Regions from separate parts of the Homo sapiens genome. Here regions 2 and 3 are each linked to region 1. The links are contacts of gene promoters, found by promoter capture Hi-C in blood cells and fetal thymus (Javierre and others, 2016). All regions are on one chromosome and are shown on one strand. The core of a region is centred on a gene start or on the middle of the fragment in contact, and the rest is flanking DNA. Distances in the headings are between cores, read along the strand shown. Region 1 holds the start of PCBP3-AS1 (PCBP3 antisense RNA 1). Region 2 holds the start of POFUT2 (protein O-fucosyltransferase 2). Region 3 has its middle 26 kb from the start of LINC00205.

The links. Contacts are between HindIII fragments. The CHiCAGO score rates a contact against its expected background, and 5 or more counts as called.
Region 2: a contact is called between the fragment with the promoter of POFUT2 here and the fragment with the promoter of PCBP3-AS1 in region 1, in 7 of 17 cell types (activated CD4 T cells, M1 macrophages, M2 macrophages and 4 more). The highest score is 11.6, in activated CD4 T cells.
Region 3: a fragment that was not itself captured here is called in contact with the fragment with the promoter of PCBP3-AS1 in region 1 in 1 of 17 cell types (activated CD4 T cells); the score reaches 5.1 in activated CD4 T cells.

The regions. Positions count from the first base shown.
Region 1 is chr21:45,834,535-45,838,200 of GRCh38, forward strand. It overlaps PCBP3-AS1 (PCBP3 antisense RNA 1), which reads right to left and starts at 1,885. Exons shown (of 3, transcript NR_038876.1): 1 at 1,752-1,885. All of the region lies in intron 4 of PCBP3 (poly(rC) binding protein 3), which reads left to right. RefSeq lists enhancers at 991-1,498, 2,569-3,112. The HindIII fragment of the contact is 12,994 bases long and covers 1-3,666 here.
Region 2 is chr21:45,286,183-45,289,848 of GRCh38, forward strand. POFUT2 (protein O-fucosyltransferase 2) reads right to left here and starts at 1,713. Exons shown (of 9, transcript NM_133635.6): 1 at 1,559-1,713. The coding sequence starts at 1,689. It overlaps LINC00205 (long intergenic non-protein coding RNA 205), which reads left to right and starts at 1,870. Exons shown (of 3, transcript NR_026943.1): 1 at 1,870-2,062; 2 at 3,169-3,256. RefSeq lists a silencer at 1,640-2,169 and an enhancer at 2,324-3,054. The HindIII fragment of the contact is 9,019 bases long and covers 1-3,666 here.
Region 3 is chr21:45,311,814-45,315,479 of GRCh38, forward strand. No RefSeq gene overlaps it. Among named protein-coding and RNA genes, the nearest start is that of LINC00205, 26 kb to the left of the region's middle. The HindIII fragment of the contact is 1,100 bases long and covers 1,018-2,117 here.

The DNA.
Region 1 (3,666 bases), core at 635-3,134:
CGTGCTGGCCTCACAACAGAAGACGGCCACAGCCCTGCTCTCCCCAGGCCACCACGTCCACGAGTGCTGCACTGTGAGGGTGCAGCCCAGCGCCTCAGAGGCAGCAGCACCTGTGAGATGGCGTGCAGATGGAAGTAGGCCAATAGACTCCAAAGGAAGCACCACTGAAAAATCAGAGGCGTCTCTCAGAGGGGGCCCACGAGGGAGGTGGTATGAAAGGTTTTTAAAAGGACAAAGCAGACTTCGGAGCTGCCTCTAGAGGAGAGCAGCAGGTGAGTTCCGAGTTCACCTGGCACGCTTTTCGGCAGAGCCCAGGAATGCCCACTTCTGAGCGCTGAGTGCACAACCCAGCTCGGGAGGCCTGCGGCAGCAGGAATGGGGAGGCACCGTGAGTCCCTCAAAGCGCTGCTGGAAATGTCACTCTGCGCGGTGTCCACCCGTGCTCGGGGTGGGCAGCGCCACTGAATGACGCGGGCAGCTTGGGAGGCCGGTTCGCGAACGCCGCAGCAGCCTCTGCTGACACGGGGGCTGCTCCCCACTCACAGAGCCACAGGTTCCTGTGGGTTCATTTATGAGGATGTAGGAATCATAGGAGTTAGGTACATCTTTTCCTGAGGTGAGAGCCAGATGAGGGGAGCCAAGACAGAGAATAGCCCACGTCTGCCCTGGGCCCCGGGGGCGGGGCCTACACAGGCTCCCAGGAGTGTGGGTGGGGCCTGTTTAAACTTCATGCCCCGGGACCTGCCTGGGAGCCTCCTGCACAAGACTCGCCCCACTCCGGAGGCTTAGCAGCACCGGAGCTGCTCTGTGGCCTGTTGGCAGAGAGGAGTCTGGTGCTCCTGTGCACGGGGGTCACAGCAAAGCCAAGTGGCCGTAGCACCTTTAACACTGGCCCCGGGTCTCTACACCTCCCTGCCGGCCGTCAGCTCCTGGCCGCAGCCGGCACTGACCTGGAGCACCTTAAGGAGCCCCTCTGCAAGTCCCTGTGCATCTGAGAGGTCAGAGAGGCAGAAACACAGTTCCAGGGTTCAAACCTAATATGCCTCAGCATTCTGGGCACTCACATGGTGTGCTGGGCCTGTCCTGCCACATGGCCCCTGCGTGAGGAAGACAGAGCCTGGGCGTGGCCCCACATCCCTGTGAGCTGCCCATGGGCCTGGACCCTGGCTCTGGCAGACTAGGCTGCATAGCAGATCAGCTTCTCCTGAGCCATTTTCATCCAGGCCACACCTGCCAGCTTGGGCCAGGGACAGGCAGACCCTGGGCCCAGGGTCTTGAGCTTGACCCGCAGGAGGTCTGGGCCTTATGCCCTGGGGAGAGGAGAGCGCAGAAAGCCAGTGTCACGGCAGCCCCAGGGGAACAGGCCCCAGGCCTGGCGGGGTCTGGATCTCAGTTCCACAGGGGAAGCTGTGGCCGCAGGCATGGTAACCTCACCAAACAAAAAGCTGCCCATCTTTCAGAATATGAGCAAGAAGTTTGTGAGTCCTTGATCACCAGAGGGGCAACGTGGGGCCCGAGATGACAAGGAGTCCAGGCCACCCACAGTAGCTCCTCCTTCAGCCTTACAGAGGGGCTGCCTGGTCTGCTTTCCTGGCCGTGGGTTGCCCCTCTCTGGGGGCCGATGTCAGCAGACCTGTGGGGGATACAAACAGAAGGAACCTTGGACCCCTTCCTGGTACCTCCTTACTCATCTGATTCAAACCCTCCCAATTCTGCCTCCAAAGTGGACCCTGACTCTCCCCAGTCCTTACCGTCCAGTCTCCAAGACCAGTCCACCCAGGGAGCGGCCAGAAGACAGCCCACCTGCGCCAGGCCTGTGTGTGCCTTTCCTGGCATCTGGAATGGGGTTTGGTGCTTGCTGCCTGTAGCCAGGCCTGCTGGTCATGCCTTCCTGCCCTGCTGGGCCTCATCTCCGTGACAACGTCTTGGCCTTCCTGCCATCCTTTGTAAGTGCTGCCTGGTCTGGGATCACGTGTGCCGGCTCCTCTGCTTGCAGTACTTGGCTGCACTTCCCAGTATATTCGTTAAAATGTTGTGACATGAGAATTAGCATATGACACGTACGTAACGTGAGCTGCGGAGCATAGCTTTCTCATGAACAGCCGTGACCCCAGGACCAGGCTAAGCGAGATGACCCATGCTGCCGTGGGTGCTTCCTCTTCTTTACCGTGATCCTGCATTTTGTTTTCTCATCTCTTCTCTTTAAAATAATTTTATTTTATTACACATGATTGCTTGTTTCTGAACTCTTAGAAAGTGACATCAGTCCCTACATAGACTTCCCAAACCTGTTCTGTTTAGTCACACACAAGGTGTCTTAGGTTGGTATGTGTTTCTGGGCAGAGCTGCAGTTTGTGTGCCTGGCTGCATAGTGTTCCAGTGTGTGAATAGGCATCATTTATTTGTTTTTCCAGCAGGGTCATGCGGCTCGCTTGCCATTGTGAGTGATGCTTCCGTGGACATTCCTGTGTGTTTCTTTTGGTGCACACATGAGGTGTTTTTGGTTTAAGGAAGTGGAATTGCTGCATCATAAAGTCTGTGAAAGGTGAACTTTCAGGAACTTTCAGGACCATGTCAGTTTTTGTTTCAAAGCGCGGGTACCAATTCCCATCCCCCAGCAGCGTGTTAGCGCCACGGATGATCTACAGTCCACCAACATTCTGAATGTTTGCCAATGCAGTGAATGTAAATAACGTTTCACTGTGGTCTGTATCTCCCGTTCCACATGCTCTTGTGCTGTGACTTTGATGCACCTCCCGCCAGGGAGGGGATCGTGACCCTCCCTTTAATCTGGGCAGGCATGTGCCTCCAGCGGAAATGATGTTATGTGACATCTGTGTGCAAGCCACAGGCAGCAGCACAGCGCTGCAGAGCTCCCAGGATGCTGGCTCTTGGAGCCTAGGGATGGCGCTGTGAGAACAGGCCACGGCGCCCTAGCTTCAGGTTATAGGGCATGGCTACGTGCCTGTGGAAATTCTCCTGCGGGCGGTTTCATGTCGAAGGCCTACCTGTAGCCCTGGGTTGTCTGCCTCTTGGGGGTAGCGGCTGTGTGGAATGCCTGCGTTCTGGATTTGGCTGGCTGCCTCCTCTGGCATGGTGCAGAGCCCACCTGCAACCCCATATTTGCCCTGGTAGGTCTGAGGTGCGATTCCACTCAGATTTATTTTTCCTGTGAGGCGAGCGAGCTTCCTAGGTGGCACTGCACGTTGCACCGCATGGCATGATGAGGCGTGTGGTCTGGCCGCTCCTTCACTGGTGCTGAGACTGAGGATTGAGCTTAGGGGGTCAGCCTGATCCGCCACTGCTGGGTTCCCCACCAGCCTTGCAGCTTGCTGTCAATATTCATTGATGGTCATTGCCTGGATGCAGTACACATTAGGGGCTGCAGAACGGTGATTTTCTAATTGTGTTGTTCTTTCTGTACTTATTAGTTGGGATTCATCTATGTGGAATAACGTTTGCCTCATCCACTAGGGCTGTTTGGTTACCTAAACTATGGTTCATGCCAGAAAGGCAGGATAGATGCTTCATTCTTTGCACTCAGTTGTTCTCACTGCGATGAGTTGGTTTCTGGAAGCCCCAGTGTTGTCCTGTGAATTTGTGTCTTTCCCTGCTTTTCTCTCCCTGTGAAGCATCATTGTTAACTGGTGGATGTTATACACACAG
Region 2 (3,666 bases), core at 463-2,962, 550 kb before region 1:
GGAACCCAAGAATCAGTACCCACATGGTTCTCAAACTGTTTGGTTTAAAGACCCCTTTACACTGGAAACAATGACTGACGGCTGGTTATGTGCACTATGTCTATTGATACGTCCTATGTTAGACGTTAAAGCTACAAGTATTTAATTCAGCTAAAAATAAGAAGCCATTACATGTTAACAAAAACCACATATTTAAATAAAAAATAAGTGTATTTTAAAAAATGAATTAGAAGAACTGTGATGATGTTCTTAATTTTTGCAAATCTCTTTTGGGTTTGGTGACAGCTGGATTCCCATACCCGTTTCTGCATTCAATCTGTTGTGACATCACAGATCAAGTGGTTTCTAGGAAAACTCCACAGTGCATTCATGAGAAGTGAAAAAGGCGTATAATACTCTGGTACTACTATTAAAACGGCTACAAAAGCTCAGAGATCCAGGACACACTTTAAGATCACTGCCCTAGAGGAAGGACACAAAGCGCCCCAAGGCACAGACAAGTCCCCAAGGCACAGACAAGTCCCCAAGGGCTACAGAAACCCTGTCCCTGGCGCTCTCCTTTCCCTGCTCTGCGCTGGTTTTCCATACTCCCATCGTCGCGAGTGAAGCTGCGTGCAGCGCCCAGGCCTGCGAACGCCACGAGGGGCCGTGCACACCTCTGCGTCCAGGCCCCTCCCGGGGTCCGCTTGGAGATCCCACAGCCACAGGGCGGCCGCGAAGCTCGTCTTGGCCCTGAGAATTCACTGCGGAGCGCCCGCCCGGCACTGACTCCCGGCTCCGCACACCCAGGCCTGGACCCGTGTCACTTGCAGGGGCCTCCGGAGCCAGCCCACGCTCAGCCTGAGCAACCCGGCCCCCTTCCTGGGCTCCCGAGGCTGCGCCCCGGGCCTCGCAGACGACCCCGCCTGCAGACCCGGGCCGCAGTGACGCAGCCTCGACTACAGCCAACCCGCTGGCCCGACCCTGCCCCCAGCCCCCGCCCCATCCCATCCCCCAGACTCCAGCCCGGCCCCGGCCCCTGCCCCTGCCCCTGCCCCTGTCCCGTCCCCGTCCCATCCTTCTTGGCCCCGGCTCCCGCCCCGCCCCCATCCCATCCCTCGGGCCCCCGTTCCTGCCCCCATCCCATCCCACCCCTCCTGGCCCTAGCCCCTGCCCCGCCCCCATCCCATCCCATCACCCTGGCCCCTGCCCCGCCCCCATCCCATCCCATCGCCCTGATCCCTGCCCCGCCCCCATCCCATCCCTCCTGGCCCCTGCCCCCTGCCCCTATACCATCACCCTGGCCCCTTACTCCGCCACATTCCTTGCCCCAGAACCCTGACCCCATCCCATTCCCCTGACCCCTGCCCCCTGACCCCGCTCCATCCCATCCCCCTGGCCCCTGCCCCATAACTCCGCTCCATTCCATCTCCCTGGCCCCGGACCACCCTCCATCCCGTGGGCCTGCCCCTGACCCCATCCCATCTCCCTGGCCCCTGACCCCGCCCCGCCCCCATCCCATCCTCTGACCCTGCCCGGTCCTGGAACCCCAGCGTTGGCACCGTGGACGCGCGTTTACCGTCTGCGGGAAGCCGCCCCCGACAGAATATCGGCCGCCGATTGTCCGGGCCAGAACTCCTGGCCGGAGGCAGAAGCCGGAGGCCAGGACACTGCCCCCAGCAGCAGGAAGACGAAGCTGAGTGTCGCCATGGCCCCGGGCGGCCACGCACTTCCGGCGGCCGCGCCCCGCCCCGGAACCACGCCCCGCCCCCGTGAAATGCGTTCCCAGTAGCCACGGCAACGCCCAGCTCCGCCCTCCCCGCGCATGCGTTATGCGCCATCACCGGCAAGCAGGGGCGGGAGGGGGAACTGCGCGTGCGCAGAGTCTCCGCCCTCCTGACCGCAGCGGCTAGAGGTTCCATTGCAGACCCGGAGGCCGTGGCTGTGGTTCGCGGCGGTGCTGTCGCGGGCGCCCTGGCGCAGCCCACGCAGGGGCTCCTGAGGGTCCGCGAGGCCGGGAGGTCCGGGGGTCGGGAGGTCCCGGGGTCGGGAAGTCGGTGGACCCTGCAGGCCAGTGGGGAGGGTACGCGAGACTGGGGGCCGGGAGGGCTGACGGCTGGTGGCGCGGGGCGGGTCCGTGGGGAGGAGGCCCGGGGCTGGTAGGGGCGGGAGGGCTGGACGGCGGGGGCGGGGCGGAGGAGGGGGTCCGTAGACGGGGTCGGCGCCGGGTGCTCTCGCCCCTCTGGAGCTGGGGTCGGGGCGGGAGCCGCGCATGAGAGCCTGGGTTTCTAGTCGGGGGGCGCCGTCGAGCTCCACACCTGCGGCCTCCTGGGTGCCCCCAACCCTGGAGCCCCGGCGAGGGGGCACCCGGGCTGAGGCCTGGCCCTCCAAGGAGCCCTGGAGGGACTGTGCTGCTAGGGCGCGGGGCTCGATGGGGTGATCTGGAGACCTGGGGGGATCCGGGGCTGCCGCCCCTGCGCTGCCAACCTCCCACCCCGCCCCTTCTGCGAGGCGTTATTAAAGGTCTGGTTTCGGGAGCCAGGTGCGTGCCCGCCGCCGCCGCTCCCCGCAGCCTCCAGGCAGCTCCCGCTGTTCCCCGAGGGCACCAGCACTGGCCGACCGACCTGGCTTGGGGCGCGGCGCTGGCAAACCCGGCCTTCTGAGGGGACGCCACGCTGACTCTAGTGCAGGCAGCCCCCAAAACGGTATAATTGGACGAATTTCTTGAAGGATGCCAGTTACCAAAAAAGAAAATACTAATGCTTATTATCTGTTAAATTTGAGATCAATTTGTTATCAAATTTTCTCACACAGAAAATTCCAGGCCCAGAGGGCCAAGCTGGTGAATCCTACTTAGAGAAGAAATAATAGGAATCCAGCCACTCAGACGATGGACGAGGAGGGGCACTTCCCTGCTCGATGTATGGGCCAGCATTGCCTTGATAGCAAAGTCAGACATCACCAGACAGTAGAACCACAGACCAATGTCTTTCATGAACCAAGACACAGCATTTAAAAAAATTAGCAAATGGAATTTATATCTGCCTATTGTTTACAAAAAAAGCCAAACTTTGTAAAATACTTGAAGAGATTTATTCTGAGCCAAATATGACCCATGACACAGCCTCAGGACGTCCTGAGAACTTGGCCCAAGGCGGTTGTTTTACTGCTTGGTTTTATTCATTTCAGGGAGACATAAGACATCAGTCAGTACATGTGAGGTGTGCATTGGATTGATCCAGAAAGTCAGGACGACTCCAAGTGGAAAGGCCTCCAGGTAATAGGTGGATTCAAAGATGTTTCTGATTGGCAGTTGGTTGAAAGAAGTTACTATCTGAAGGCTTGGAATCAATAGAAAGGAGTGTCTGGGTTAAGAGAAGGGGCTGTGGAGACCGAGGTCCTTATTATGTGGATGAAATCTCATAGGTGTCCGCCCTCAGAGGCAATACATGGCAAATGTTTCCTATTCAGACCTTCAAAAGGCACTAGACTCTCAGCCAGTCTCCTCAGGATCAGAAAAAGAGCTGGAAAGGGAAGGGGAGTCTACAGAATATGAATTTCCCCACAAGACACCGCTTTGCGGGGCCATTTCAAAATTTGTCAAAGAGATATATTTTGGGGTAAAATACATTGATACTTTGAGGGCCTGTTGTCACGTGATGCTATACCAGCGTCAGATTGGAACTT
Region 3 (3,666 bases), core at 318-2,817, 520 kb before region 1:
CCACAGGTGGAGGTGTGTGGGGAGGATGTTCCGGGCCCAGTGACAGCACGAACACATGAACCCATCCATCCATCCATCCATCCATCCATCCATTCATCCATCCATCCATCCATCCACCAATCCTCTTGGCTCTGCTTCTCTGGAGAGCACTGTGCACACAGATGCACACAGATATCTTCACTTGGTCTTCAACCCCGGAGCACAGGCAGTGCAATGGACTAAAGATAGCCTTTTCAACAAATGGTGCTGGAACAACTGGACATCCACATGCAGAAAAAACAAATGAATCTAGACACAAACCATAAAACCTTCATAAAAATTAACTCACAATTTATCACAGACCTAAATGTCAAATGCAAAACTATAAAACTCCTAGAAGGTATCGCAAGAGAAAATCTAGATGACTTAGGATTTGGTGATGTTTTTAAAGTACAACATCAAAGGCTGATCCATGAAAAAATATCAGTGATAAGCTGGACCTCATTAAAATTAAAACCCTCTGCCCTGCAAAAGACAAAGTCAAAAGAATGGGAAGATGAGCCACAAACTGAAAGAAAGTGTTTGCAAAATACACATCTGATAAAGGACTGTTATCCAAAATATATAAAGAACTCTTAAAACTCAACAGTAAGAAAACAAACAACCCGATTAAAAAATGGGCAAAAGACCTGAACAGACACTTCATTGGAGAAGATGCACAGATGGCAAAGAAGCACATGTAAAGATTGTAAGAAATGCACCTAAAACAACAATGAGATGCCACCACACACCTGTTAGGAAGTCAGATTCCAGAACACTGACCACTGAATGCTGGTGAGGGTGTGGAGCAAAGTTTGGCATTCACTCATCACTGGTGGGAATGCAGAACAGCACAGCTACTTTGGAAGCCAGTTTGCAGTTTCTTACAAAACTAAATGTGTTCTTACTATACATTCTAGCAATTACATTTATTGGCATTTACCCAAAGGAAGTGAACATTTATTTCCATACAATCACCTCCATGCAGATGTTTATAGAAGCTTTATTCATAATTGCCAGAACTTGGAAGCAACCAAGATGTCCTTCAGTAGGTGAAAGGGGTAGGTGGACCGTGGCACACCCAGACAGTGGAATATGATGCAGTGCTAGAAAGAAATGTGCTGTCAAGCAGCCAGGAGAAAACATGCAGGAGCCTTGACTATGTATTACTACGTGAAAGAAGCCATGCAGAGAAGTCTACAGACGGTGTGATTCTAACCATGTGACACTCTGGAAAAGGCAATATCGTGGTCGCCAGCGCTCAGGAAGGAGGGACAGACAGGCAGAGCCCAGGGGATCTTCAGGGCGCAGAACCGCTCTGTGTGGGACTGCAGTGGTGGATCCATGCCATTGCACATCTGTCCAAACCCACGGCATGAAGAGCACCAAGAGCGAGCCCTCGTGTGGACCAGGGTCTTTGGGTGCTGACAATGTGGCCACGCAGGCTCATGGCTTGTAATAAATGGGCCGCTCCGGTGTGGGTGTTGATGGTGAGGGAGGCTGCATGTTTGTGGTGGGGCAGAGGGTGCATGGGAACTCTGTACCGCCTGCTCGATTTTACTGTGAACCTAAACCTTCCCTAAAAAATAAAGTCTATTTAAAAAAAAACTAAGAAGGACAAGCTGCGTTAATAGACATGCATAAGAAAGCGAGAGTAAATGAAGCAGGAATAGAGAAATAAACCAGCGGAGTGGAGTTGAGAGGGCAGGAAAAGTTCCACGCAACTGTGGGAGTCCCATTCGTGATAAGGGCGGTTTCTCAAATGAGGGGTATGCGATGGACTCCCCAGTACATGTGAAGTCAGACCCTCGCAAGACTGAACCAAGAAGAAGTTGAATCCTGAATAGACCAATAACAAGTTCTGAAATTGAGGTAGTAATAAATAGCCATTCCTCCCATTCCTCACTTCATTCCCAAAAACATGTTTCACAGACAGTAAAAGCCTAAACAGGAAGGGAAACTATAAGATATCAGAGGATGGGAGTTCACTCATGATTTGGGTTTCTGCTTATCTGTTGTTGGTGTATAGGAATGCTTGTGATTTCTGCACGTTGATTTTGTGTCCTGAGACTTTGCTAAAGTTGTTTATCAGCTTAAGAAGCTTTTGGGCTGAGACGATAGGGTTTTCTACATACAGGATCATGTCATCTGCAAACAAAGACAATTTGACTTCCTCTCTTCCTATTTGAAACCCTTTATTTCTTTTTCTCGCCTGATTGCCCTGGAGTCAGAACTTCCAACACTATGTTGGGAAAGAGTGGTGAGAGAGGGCATCCCTGTCTTGTGCTGGTTTTCAATGGGAATGCTTCCAGCTTTTGCCCATTCAGTATGATATTGCCCATGGGTTTGTCATAAATGGCTCTTACTATTTCAAGGTATGTTCCTTTAATACCTAGTTTATTGAGAGTTTTTAACACGAAGGGTGTTGAATTTTATGAAAGGCCCTTTCTGCATCTATTGAGATAATCATGTGGTTTTTGTCATTGGTTCTGTTTATGTGATGGATTACGTTTATTGACTTGTGTATGTTGAACCAGCCTTGCATCCCAGGGATGAAGCTGACTTGATCGTGGTGGATAAGCTTTTTGATGTGCTGCTGGATTTGGTTCGCCTGTGTTTTATAGAGGATTTTCACATTGGTGTTCATCAGGGATATTGGCCTGAAGTTTTCTTTTTTGTTGTTGTGTCTCTGCCAGGTTTTGCTATCAGGATGATGCTGGTCTCATAAAATGAGTTAGGGAGGAGTCTCTCCTTTTCAATTATTTGGAATAGTTTCAGAAGAAACGGTACCAGCTCGTCTTCATACTTCTGATAGAATTCAGCTGTAAATCCATCTGGACCTGGGCTTTTTTAGGTTGGCAGGCCATTTATTACTGCCTCAATTTTAGAACTTGTTATTGGTCTATTCAGGGATTCAACTTCTTGGTTCAGTCTTGGGAGGATGTATGTGCCCAGGAATTTATCCATTTCTTCTAGATTTTCCAGTTTATTTGCATAGAGTTCAAAATAACTATGAATACAGCTAACAAGGGAAGTGAAGGACCTGTTCAAGGAGAACTACAAACTGCTGCTCAAGGAAACCAGAGAGGACACAAGCAGATGGAAAAACATTCCACGCTCATGGATAGAAAGAATCAATGTTATGAAAATGGCCATACTGCTCAAAGCAATTTATAGATTCAATGCTATTCCCATTAAACTACCATTGACATTCTTCACAGAATTAGAAAAAACTATTTAAAAATCCATACGGAACCAAAAAAGAGCTCTCATAGCTAAGACAATCTTAAGCAAAAATAACAAAGCTGGAGGCATCATGCTACCTGACTTCAAAATATACTACAAGGCCACAGTAACCAAAACAGCATGGTACTGGTACAAAAACAGACACATAGACCAATGGAACAGAATAGAGAACTCAGAAATAACACCATATGTCTACAACCATCTGGTCTTCGACAAGCCAAACAAAAACACGCAATGGGGAAAGGATTTCCTAGTTAATAAATGGTGCTGGGAGAACTGGCTAGCCATATGCAGAAAATTGAAACTGGACACCTTCCTTACACCTTATGCAAAAATTAACTCAAAGTGGATTAAAGCCTTAAATGTAAAACCCAAAACTATAAAAACCCTAGAAGAAAATCT